2 separate regions of the Homo sapiens genome follow, and region 1 is linked to region 2. Evidence: promoter capture Hi-C in 16 types of primary human blood cells and fetal thymus (Javierre and others, 2016). All regions are on one chromosome and are shown on one strand. The core of a region is centred on a gene start or on the middle of the fragment in contact, and the rest is flanking DNA. Distances in the headings are between cores, read along the strand shown. Region 1 overlaps SLC13A1 (solute carrier family 13 member 1). Region 2 holds the start of RNF133 (ring finger protein 133).

Region 1 (4,807 bases), core at 1,850-4,349, 460 kb after region 2:
TGAACACAGAAGAGATGATACTGAAGTAAAGGGTAAAGCATGAGGACTAGAGGGACAGTAGCAGAGGGCACTGAGCTGAAAAATAGGGCTCTTAAGAAAGCCTGATATGAGCCACTAAATGAGCCAACTAGTGGTACAGAAATTATACAAAGGGGGCAGGTATCACAGCAGATTAATCTTTAGTCTTCTGCCTAGATAGTAGTTTCAGCCTATGGCCACAGGACATTGTCACAGGTATATTATGAATGGAAAAGTACTTGTGTTATATAAGGATATTTATGTGAAGTGAAAAGTACAAAATGATGTAAAATTTTAAAACAAAAAATATTTCTACATATACACATGTGCCTGAAATGAAACATATATATATGTGGCTGAAGTAAAATATATCAAAATATTAAGGATAGTTATTTCTTAATCATGAGCTTAGTGGTATCTTCCACCTTCTTGATACTTTTTGTAACTTTTATTGCCAGAAATAAGTTTTTTTAACATATAAAGGAATTATAGACTATTAGGGCAGACAGGTAGTTAGAGATTATATGGTGTAAAGACCTAATATTTCAGAAGTGCAAAATGAGTCTCAAGTGTGACCCAGCTGATTACTACAGACTTGAAAGCAGAATCCATGTCTGTGAGTTCTCTCTCAGTGAATTTCCCCTGTACCAACTTGCCTTCCAGAATACTTTACTTCTATGAATTTTTAAAACTACATTTGAGTTCCATTTCATACTGCTTTTACCACAATGGTAACCTATTGTGTTTTTATTCAATCCCTTCTGTCTACCATACATGTGGAGTATGCCTTCCACATCTTCTTCCAAGTAACTGAAAAATTTCCTATGAGGACATGACCGAATGCAGAATCCAATGACATCATCACAGTGGACCTGTCACAACAGAAATCCTGCAGGTCCAGATGTAACTCACTATTGCCACCTGGTGGCAACGATTGCAGATTTCTTTCACAGCTTCCTTCACTGAATACGTATACTTTGTATCATCCTCCAATTATGGCTCTGTCATAATGTTGCTTATAGTACAGACTTCACATTTTCAATATGTTGCCTAGAGCTCTATTAACAGCTAGAAATATGATATACATTACTTTTCCTGCCCCTTCTGTAAGTTAGAATATGTCTTTTCCTTCTTTTACTTGCTTATTTTTTAAAGTACCTACTACTGAATCAGTCCCAAATATTCCCTGGTTGCTTAAACATTCTCTCAGAACAATCAAGTGATAGGATACCTAATTCACATCAATATTCTGCCAATTTTATTGTCTTGATGACATCTCTTTCAGGGCCTCCTTTCCTGTCCCAAACCTAGTTATTTTTTCTCTAGAACTGCAAAGAGCTATCTAGACTTAAGTCTTCCCTCTTATTTCATCAAAAGTCTGACTGGATATTGACTCTAGGTTGGAAATAAATGTTACTTAGAATTTTGAAGGCAGTTTTTCTGCTGTCTCTGAGTAGTGCTGCTGGGGAGAAGTATTCAGTCATTCATATTTTTGATCCTTTGTAAGGAATTAGTGTTTCTTCCTTTTTGAGAGCTTTTAGGGTCATCTTATAGTATTCTGAAAACTCAAAGATTTTAAAACAGACCTGCCCTGTGTGGGTCTGCTTCATTCATTTTGATGACATTTAGTGAGTCCTTTAATCATAAAACTTGTACTCTTCCATTGTAGAAACTTTCTTGAATTTTTAATATACTCTTCTCTTTTTTCCTATTCTTTTTTGGAAACTCCTCTTATTTCCTGTTTATTCTGTTTCTTTCTGTTTTGTCTACTGAATTTTCCATTTATGCTTTTATATCTCTATATTTTACATTTATACTTTATTTTATATTTACATATTTTGTATTTTTGCCTTCTTGATTCTCTTTTATAGAATACTATTTGTATTTGTATTTCATAAATACAAGTAATATATTTGTTTGCCTCTCTGATTATATTAATGATATTTTCTTTTTTATAGTCTCTTCTTCTTGCATAGTCTCTGTTTCCCGCAAATTGCTCTTTTTTCTTTTTATTTATTTGGCAATCTCTCTTTCATAATTGAGGCTTTCATCAGATATCCAGGAATTTTTGGTTGTCTGCTCACATTTCAGGCGGTGAATATTTGTGTAGAAGCTCTGCACTCGTATTTTGGGATTTGTTGTTGCCTGTAAGCTTCACTGTAATGTCATCTGACTTGGCCTTTTTTTGAGAAAATTCTAAGGTCAATGTTTTCATCTCTCTTAACGCTGATTGTGTTCTCCAAGGAAGCATCATCTGGCCTTCTGCCTGCTGACACCCGAAAGGCATAGACTTGGCTCCTGGACCAGTGTAGGTAGAAGGCCGGGTTCTCCATTTTCAACTTGTAAGCTATCGCTCAGTACCCCTGTTTTCCTTGTGACACCCTCCCCCAGCCCAGAACTGGATCTGGTTCTCCTTATCCCGTTTTACCTTGTCTGAAGATCATATTTCTGTTTGGTGGATTAGAAGCTGTTGCATCCATGTGGATTTGAGGAAGAAAGTAGAAGATTTAACTGCTTCACAAGCAATTTTTTCTTCCTCCTGCTTTTCAGCATTTTAAAAATGTTGAAGCCTGCTGCTATGGAAATTGAATTGTTTATTGGCTTTTTTCATTACCGATTTAGGATTCAGCTTCCATGGGATTACTGGGGATAATGGGGTTATTTTCCACTCATCTTTTTACTTTCCAGCTTCCAAAATGATTTTGCTGTCATGTCTTCTCTTGATGTTTATATAATTTGGATTATATTTGAAAGTCTATTTGTTCTTGTTTTAATGAAGACTTAGAAAAGTGGTAACAAATGGGCCTATTTAACCTGCCATCTTAATGGAAGATGCAATATTTATCTTTTTACATTTCAAAATTAAAGAAATAAATATTTACTAATAATTAATGCCCACTTTTGACCTTGGTGCTTTCGTGGTCCATATGTTGGTAGATGATGTAACTAAAAAGGGAACAGGAGAGTGGAAGTTCCATAGTGCACAGAGGAATTGAGACAGTGGGAACCTGTCCTTTTGGTCTGCATGTTGAGTTTAAAGATCCTCAGTTAAGTTAATAACAGATTATGTTATTTAATTAAACCAGCCTTCCTACAGTGTTCTAATGGTTTAAAATGTCTATAAGAAGATTATTTCTGTAAAGAAATTTTTTTTATAATGGATTCTTTATTAGACGAAGCTCTGATCACAATAGTTGATCCCTTTAGTTTTCCCATCCTTTTTCTTCTCCATGCCTTCTCTTTGGCCCTATCAGGAGCTCAAGTCCTTCTAGACCTTCTCAAGGCCTCATTCTTTACCAGGGCAAACCTATCCCTTCAGATGAATCACTGACAACTCTCCTGCTGTGCCTTCAACATCCCAGCAGGCTTATCATTTTGCTGTTCCCATCTTTATGGACCCTGAACTTCAGCTTAATATGAAAATCAATTTCTATGCTCTCTTGGATGCCACTGGAGAAAATCCCTTGGCTAAGCTCGCTGGTGCTGTGAGAAATCCACAACCTCTGACCTCAGATGGGCCTCAGTATCACTCTGCAACGTTTTCCTGTGTTTCTGCTTTCTTACAAGGGATACCTAAACTCTCCCCACATCCTTCTGTAAAGAAATTATTGAATGAAAGTACTAGATAAGTGAATAGCAAGAAATTGTAGGAGAGGATCTTCTCCTTACAGCTAGTATGAACTCTTCATGAAGATCTAGTGAAAATATAATCAGTAATAACCTGAAGAATTCAGAGGAGTTGGTAGTAAAATTGAAGTTATCGGTAAGACTCTGAAATAGAATTTTTATCCACCGTAGTTAATAAAGAACTATTACATATTGTGAATTTGGATATGTTTATAAAGTAATAAACATTTATTGTGTGTGATGAATAAAGAGATGTTTAAAATGTAGCATTAAGGACATGAGGCCTCTTTATAAATAAACTCTATTTTTCAGAAATGTTAAAAGTCATGATTAAATCCAATATTTACTTAAAAAATTTTATTGCCCTAAATGTTAACTATTTAGAAGCTTCCCTTATACTTTCTTAGGAAAAAGCATATGTGTATGTGTGTTTGTGTGTGTGTGCCACTGAGAAAAACCTTGCTCTTTCTAGTTGTAAAAATGACTGAAACAAAATATAATAACATAGCATATTTTTCTATCCAGCAGCATGACAAATCAGATTCCCATGCTAAATGAGATGCTATTTAAAATATTAAAAACAATCTTTTAAAGTGCAACAATCATTTTAAAGCTGGATTTAAAATAGGATTTCAGATTTCAGTGTATCATGTTGCAAGGAGAGCTTGGTATAAAAGATATTGCTCCAGGCCAAATGTGTGTGGGGAATCATACAAGAAAATACACATAAAGCTGGTATCCTTTGCAGAAGCAGAAAGAAAATATCATGCTGAATTAAGGGAAAACAATATCCCCTAAAAATTCCTAACCATGAGCATTTTTTCTTAAAGCACTAATTTATGTTATGTGTGTGTTAAAGAGAAATAGCAATATAATTGAAAACTCTTACAAGAAGCTGCAACATAGGACTTAAAGAATTTCCATAGTAACTAAAAAAAAATTTCAATGTTTAAAAGTACTGAACATGCAAGAAAATAATTCAACAAAATGAGAACCAGCAATAAATAAATAAAAACTAAATCAAAGAAAGAGACCCACAAGGACCTCAGAGGTGTTGGACACAGACACAAAATATAATTACATTTACATATGATTAATAAAATTAGAGAAGCAATTGAAAATATGAAAAAGATTATAAAAGTTACAGGCAAATCTTAAGACA
Region 2 (4,317 bases), core at 1,211-3,710:
GTTCAAAGCTGCTCATTAAAATTATGCATGCTGAACTGTAATAATAAATTCTGGGCTAAAATTATAATTTAATATTTTTTCAAAGTAATTTAGAGTGAAAAACTTCAAAATTTTCTGTTATTTTGTATAATTGGGAAAAACAGTCAAGTTTTTCAAATTAACACATAATAGTTGCATTACAACAAAGATATTTATCATTCACTTATTCATTCATTCAAAAATACTCGAGTGCCAGGAACTCTGCTGGACCCTGAGAATATAGTGAACAAAAGAAACATGACCATATCATAATAATAATAATTTCTATATTGTATCACTTATTTCAAGAATAGTCTGGCATAGATTAAACATTTTATTTAAGAAAACAAATTGGGGAGTGGGGAGAAACACATGGGAAGTAAATTTGCCATGACTAAGTATCAAAGTCGTTCTATGTATTATGAATATGTAACAATTATTGTAAGTAACACTGGACACTAAAATAGTTGCTGTTCACTTAAAGAGTGCTAGTATTTTATTTTAAAATTTCACTATACAGATGCATATCACAAAAAAAATGTACTAACTGCTTGAACAGAACTATTTATCAAGAATAAGAATAATAAGATTTTGTAAAATGTTCATGCCAAGAATGCAAAAGAAAAAAACAGCACAATAACCTCACAACTAAGACATACTATAAATATGTTATCAAAAGATAATTTTTACTCTTCCTAGCACATAAAAGATAATTTATTGTTTTCAAACTTAATTGATACTTTCTGTATTAGAACATATTACATATCAGTAATTTTCTTACCAAAATAGAACCCAATATATGTACAGTAAATATTTAAGAAAATAAGTTTGTCCTTAGCTTTAACATGAATGTGTACATATAAATATACATATGTACACTCACAGGAGTAACATACATTGACAAAAAATTACACTTAGCAAAGGTCCAAAATTGCACAAAAAAAATCCCGCTAGGACTTTTTTGCTATCTTTGAGGTTGGACAAAGAATGTATAAAATTACTGAAGTAACAAAAAAGGACACAAAAACCACACTTCAAACAGACAAACTGCTTGTCAGTATTAGGACCTGATTTCACATACAGGTTTAATACACTTCCTCAAAAGTCATGCCATCAAGGTGAAGGATGAACATCTTCCACTACTGAATGAGGCTGGATGTCATTATTCTGAGAAGTAGGGTTCTCCTCCACATGGATTACTTTATCTGAGGTTCCTGCAGGAGAAACTTCATTATTTGTCTCCTCTTCACTAGGTGATAAGGTTTCAGGCAGTTCATTTGACATTAGAACTTGCAAAGGTTCTGTTCCATTTTCAACAACCACTTGAATCCCCAAAACTTTAAGAATATCACATTTGCAAATGGGGCATGTCCCATGGGGTAAAATCCAGGGGTCAATGCAATTCTTGTGGAAAAAATGTTTACAAGTCAGAATACGAACTATGTCATTAGGCTTATAGCGTTCAAAGCAAATTACGCAGCTATCCCCATTTGGATTTATTTCTTCATCCCCCTCTTTTACTACTCGAAGTTGGAGTTGTCCAAATGTGTTCTGAAGATCTGTTGTTAATCGCTGCCATCTCCGGTTCTGAATCCTTGCTAAACAAAGTCTATGAATGTGATAAAAGATGAAATATGCTAAGGTAGCAGTTGTGACAATCACAAAAGAGACCAAATAGTGATTCATCCAGATGATGTGCTTTCTCCCCACCTCAACCACGGCTGTAATGAGAACTCCCTTCTTAATTAAATGGAAAATTTCCGTGCCTTTTAAGTTACCAATCATAACCACAACGACATCTTCAAATGCCTGATGAAACATGGGGAACACCTGGTTGCCAGTACCTGGAACGTTATAGATGATCACTCCACTGGCTCCCTTCTCAGTTGCCACTTTAATTTTCTGTGTGAAGGTACAACCTCCCCGTTCAATAAGTGCAAGCCAGGTCTCTGAGTACTTTGATCGGCTGAAAATGGTATTGGGATTACATGCATTTTGGATTTTTCCCTCTGGTGGCACTATAACTCCTGCCACTCTCTTCAAAGTGGAGCTTCTTCCAAAGACTCCAGTCTCTCCCAACTCTGACAACACATGATTCCCAACATGAAATGATATGTTCATATAAGCCATCCAAACAACACTTGCTCTGCAACAGTTCTGACTAACAAGCCAAAGAACACTGAACTTCATAAGCCAGGAAGAGGCAGTGTTGTTTCTCCAAGTGCCAACCTTGAGTAGATGCATCTCTCTCTTCTCCGAGTGACTTAAGAACCAACCTAACAGTTGCACATCTGTTGACAATTAATTTAAAATAACGAAGAGAAAAAAATCTTCAGGATACAAACAAGATCCACTGTCTTCCAGCATGTTTTTGTAAGAAATTCTTAAAGATGGCTTATGAGTTTCAGATGTCTTACTAGAGAGAGGTGAAAAACTTTAGATTGAAAAATAAATCCCCTACTGTTAACTCTAGATACTGCTTACTATTGTGTGATGTGATTATGACATGCAAGACCCAGCAGCCAATTAGATAAGAGCTTAGAGCATACTGTGAATTTATTGGCTTAAATGCTGTTATGGGTGATTTCTATGTTGTTATAAGATGGATATAATCACTGAGCTACATATAATGGTAGTAGATAGCACATTAAACTAAAAATTAAATCTAAAATTCATACAATGTGTGCTCTTTAAAGCCTGAAAGCACATGTAAGAATGTTTTATTTTCCCAGCAAGTGAAGGAGATATTTCCAACAAAATGGCAAGCTAAAAAAAAGGATAATTAAAAATTAGTGCAGTGACCGGATGTGAGGCAAAAGTGGTGAGCTTAGTGACATTATTTTTACATCAAAAAGTAAAAGTCACACTGCTAATTTTTGATTCATCACATAAACCATTATATTGCATTTATTTAATTTAAGCTTTCTGAGAAGTTTGTGGCTTTTGTTTTATGGTTTTGCTGTTTTAAAGTAAGGGATCCTGCTCAGTTTACTTCTGCCTCACTTTCTCTGTCTTACATTGACTGTACAAATGTAGTAAGACTGACAGGAGTAAAGAAAGGACTGATATCTAGGGAAGCTAATTTCTCTGCAGACTTTGATGTCTGTTATTAATCAAACAATATTTTGAAAGAGGAGGAGAAAGGGTGTCAAGGGAAAGATTAAATATAGTCATATTAGTTTGGCACAATTCATTTTTTAAAAAACAGCTATTAAGAAAAACTTCAAGGTGCACACTTAAAGTTAACCATTAGCAGCAATAAGTAGATGCTTTTATCAAACATTTTTGCAGAACTTAACAAATATCCCTATTAGAAGATTCCACAGGCTCTGTCCACTCTGCCTATGTTTTTGCCACAATCATGTCAGTGGCACAATATGACATCAAAGCTAAAGGATGGCATGTGGACTCACAAGCATAGTAAGTTCACAAGCAGCCACGCTGCTACTGGTACACTTTCTTGGCGGTGAATCTCAGTGGGTTTTTTCCCACCAGCTAGGAAACCGAGGCCAAAGATTCTGACCTTGAACATGAATGTCTCTGGTCTACATACGTAAAGTGCTAGAAGTCACTTTTGGTTGGAACTCACCAGGACTAAAGGAGCTGTTACTTCTTATGAAATGTAAATCTACAACATGGTAATTTGAGACAAGAAAGATGAAGGAACAAAGGGCCCTATGGGCCAACAAAAACTAGTATAAAAAGAATACTGATGATATAAAACATACCCATAAAGGTTGATTTTCTCTCCCAAAGGCCATTAATCCGATTTTATTTTCATACATCCCTGCACATTTTAAAAGGTAGTATATGGTGTGTATATTCACAAAGTGACACTGAGGTATCAAAAGTTTAGCATATCATCCAGAAACAGAAATTTTCATCAATACAACAATACCTAAATCTTTCTGTCTCTCATTGTTATATAGGTGTTTATTCATCTACTAGAAAAAAGGAAGATGCAAAATAAGGCAAAGAATATAACATCGAAAGGCAATTGAACAAAATTTTAGCTCTGCCCTATGTTATCAAAATGCCCCCAGAGAAACATTCATTACCATTTGGAGAGGAAAAGAGAAGCATTTACTAAGGACACTTCTAGAAAAGAAATCTGCTACCATAGCTGAGTCACTATGCTAGGATTTAAAGAGCTCTGGCAAACAAAAGTGAATGTTTGCAATGTTATCCTAAATGAAGCCTATAATAATTTAGAACACTTTTCCTTACATATCCAAAGTACTATCATCTAAAATAATTATTTAGAACACATTACCAATCCAGTGAGTAGCTTTGGAAACT

What was found. Contacts are between HindIII fragments. The CHiCAGO score rates a contact against its expected background, and 5 or more counts as called.
Region 1: a fragment that was not itself captured here is called in contact with the fragment with the promoter of RNF133 in region 2 in 1 of 17 cell types (endothelial precursors); the score reaches 5.8 in endothelial precursors.

Annotation. Positions count from the first base shown.
Region 1 is chr7:123,153,510-123,158,316 of GRCh38, forward strand. All of the region lies in intron 6 of SLC13A1 (solute carrier family 13 member 1), which reads right to left. Among named protein-coding and RNA genes, the nearest start is that of SLC13A1, 44 kb to the right of the region's middle. The HindIII fragment of the contact is 1,862 bases long and covers 2,169-4,030 here.
Region 2 is chr7:122,696,657-122,700,973 of GRCh38, forward strand. RNF133 (ring finger protein 133) reads right to left here and starts at 2,461. Exons shown (of 1, transcript NM_139175.2): 1 at 1,079-2,461. The coding sequence starts at 2,262. The coding sequence ends at 1,132. All of the region lies in intron 2 of CADPS2 (calcium dependent secretion activator 2), which reads right to left. The HindIII fragment of the contact is 4,309 bases long and covers 1-2,937 here.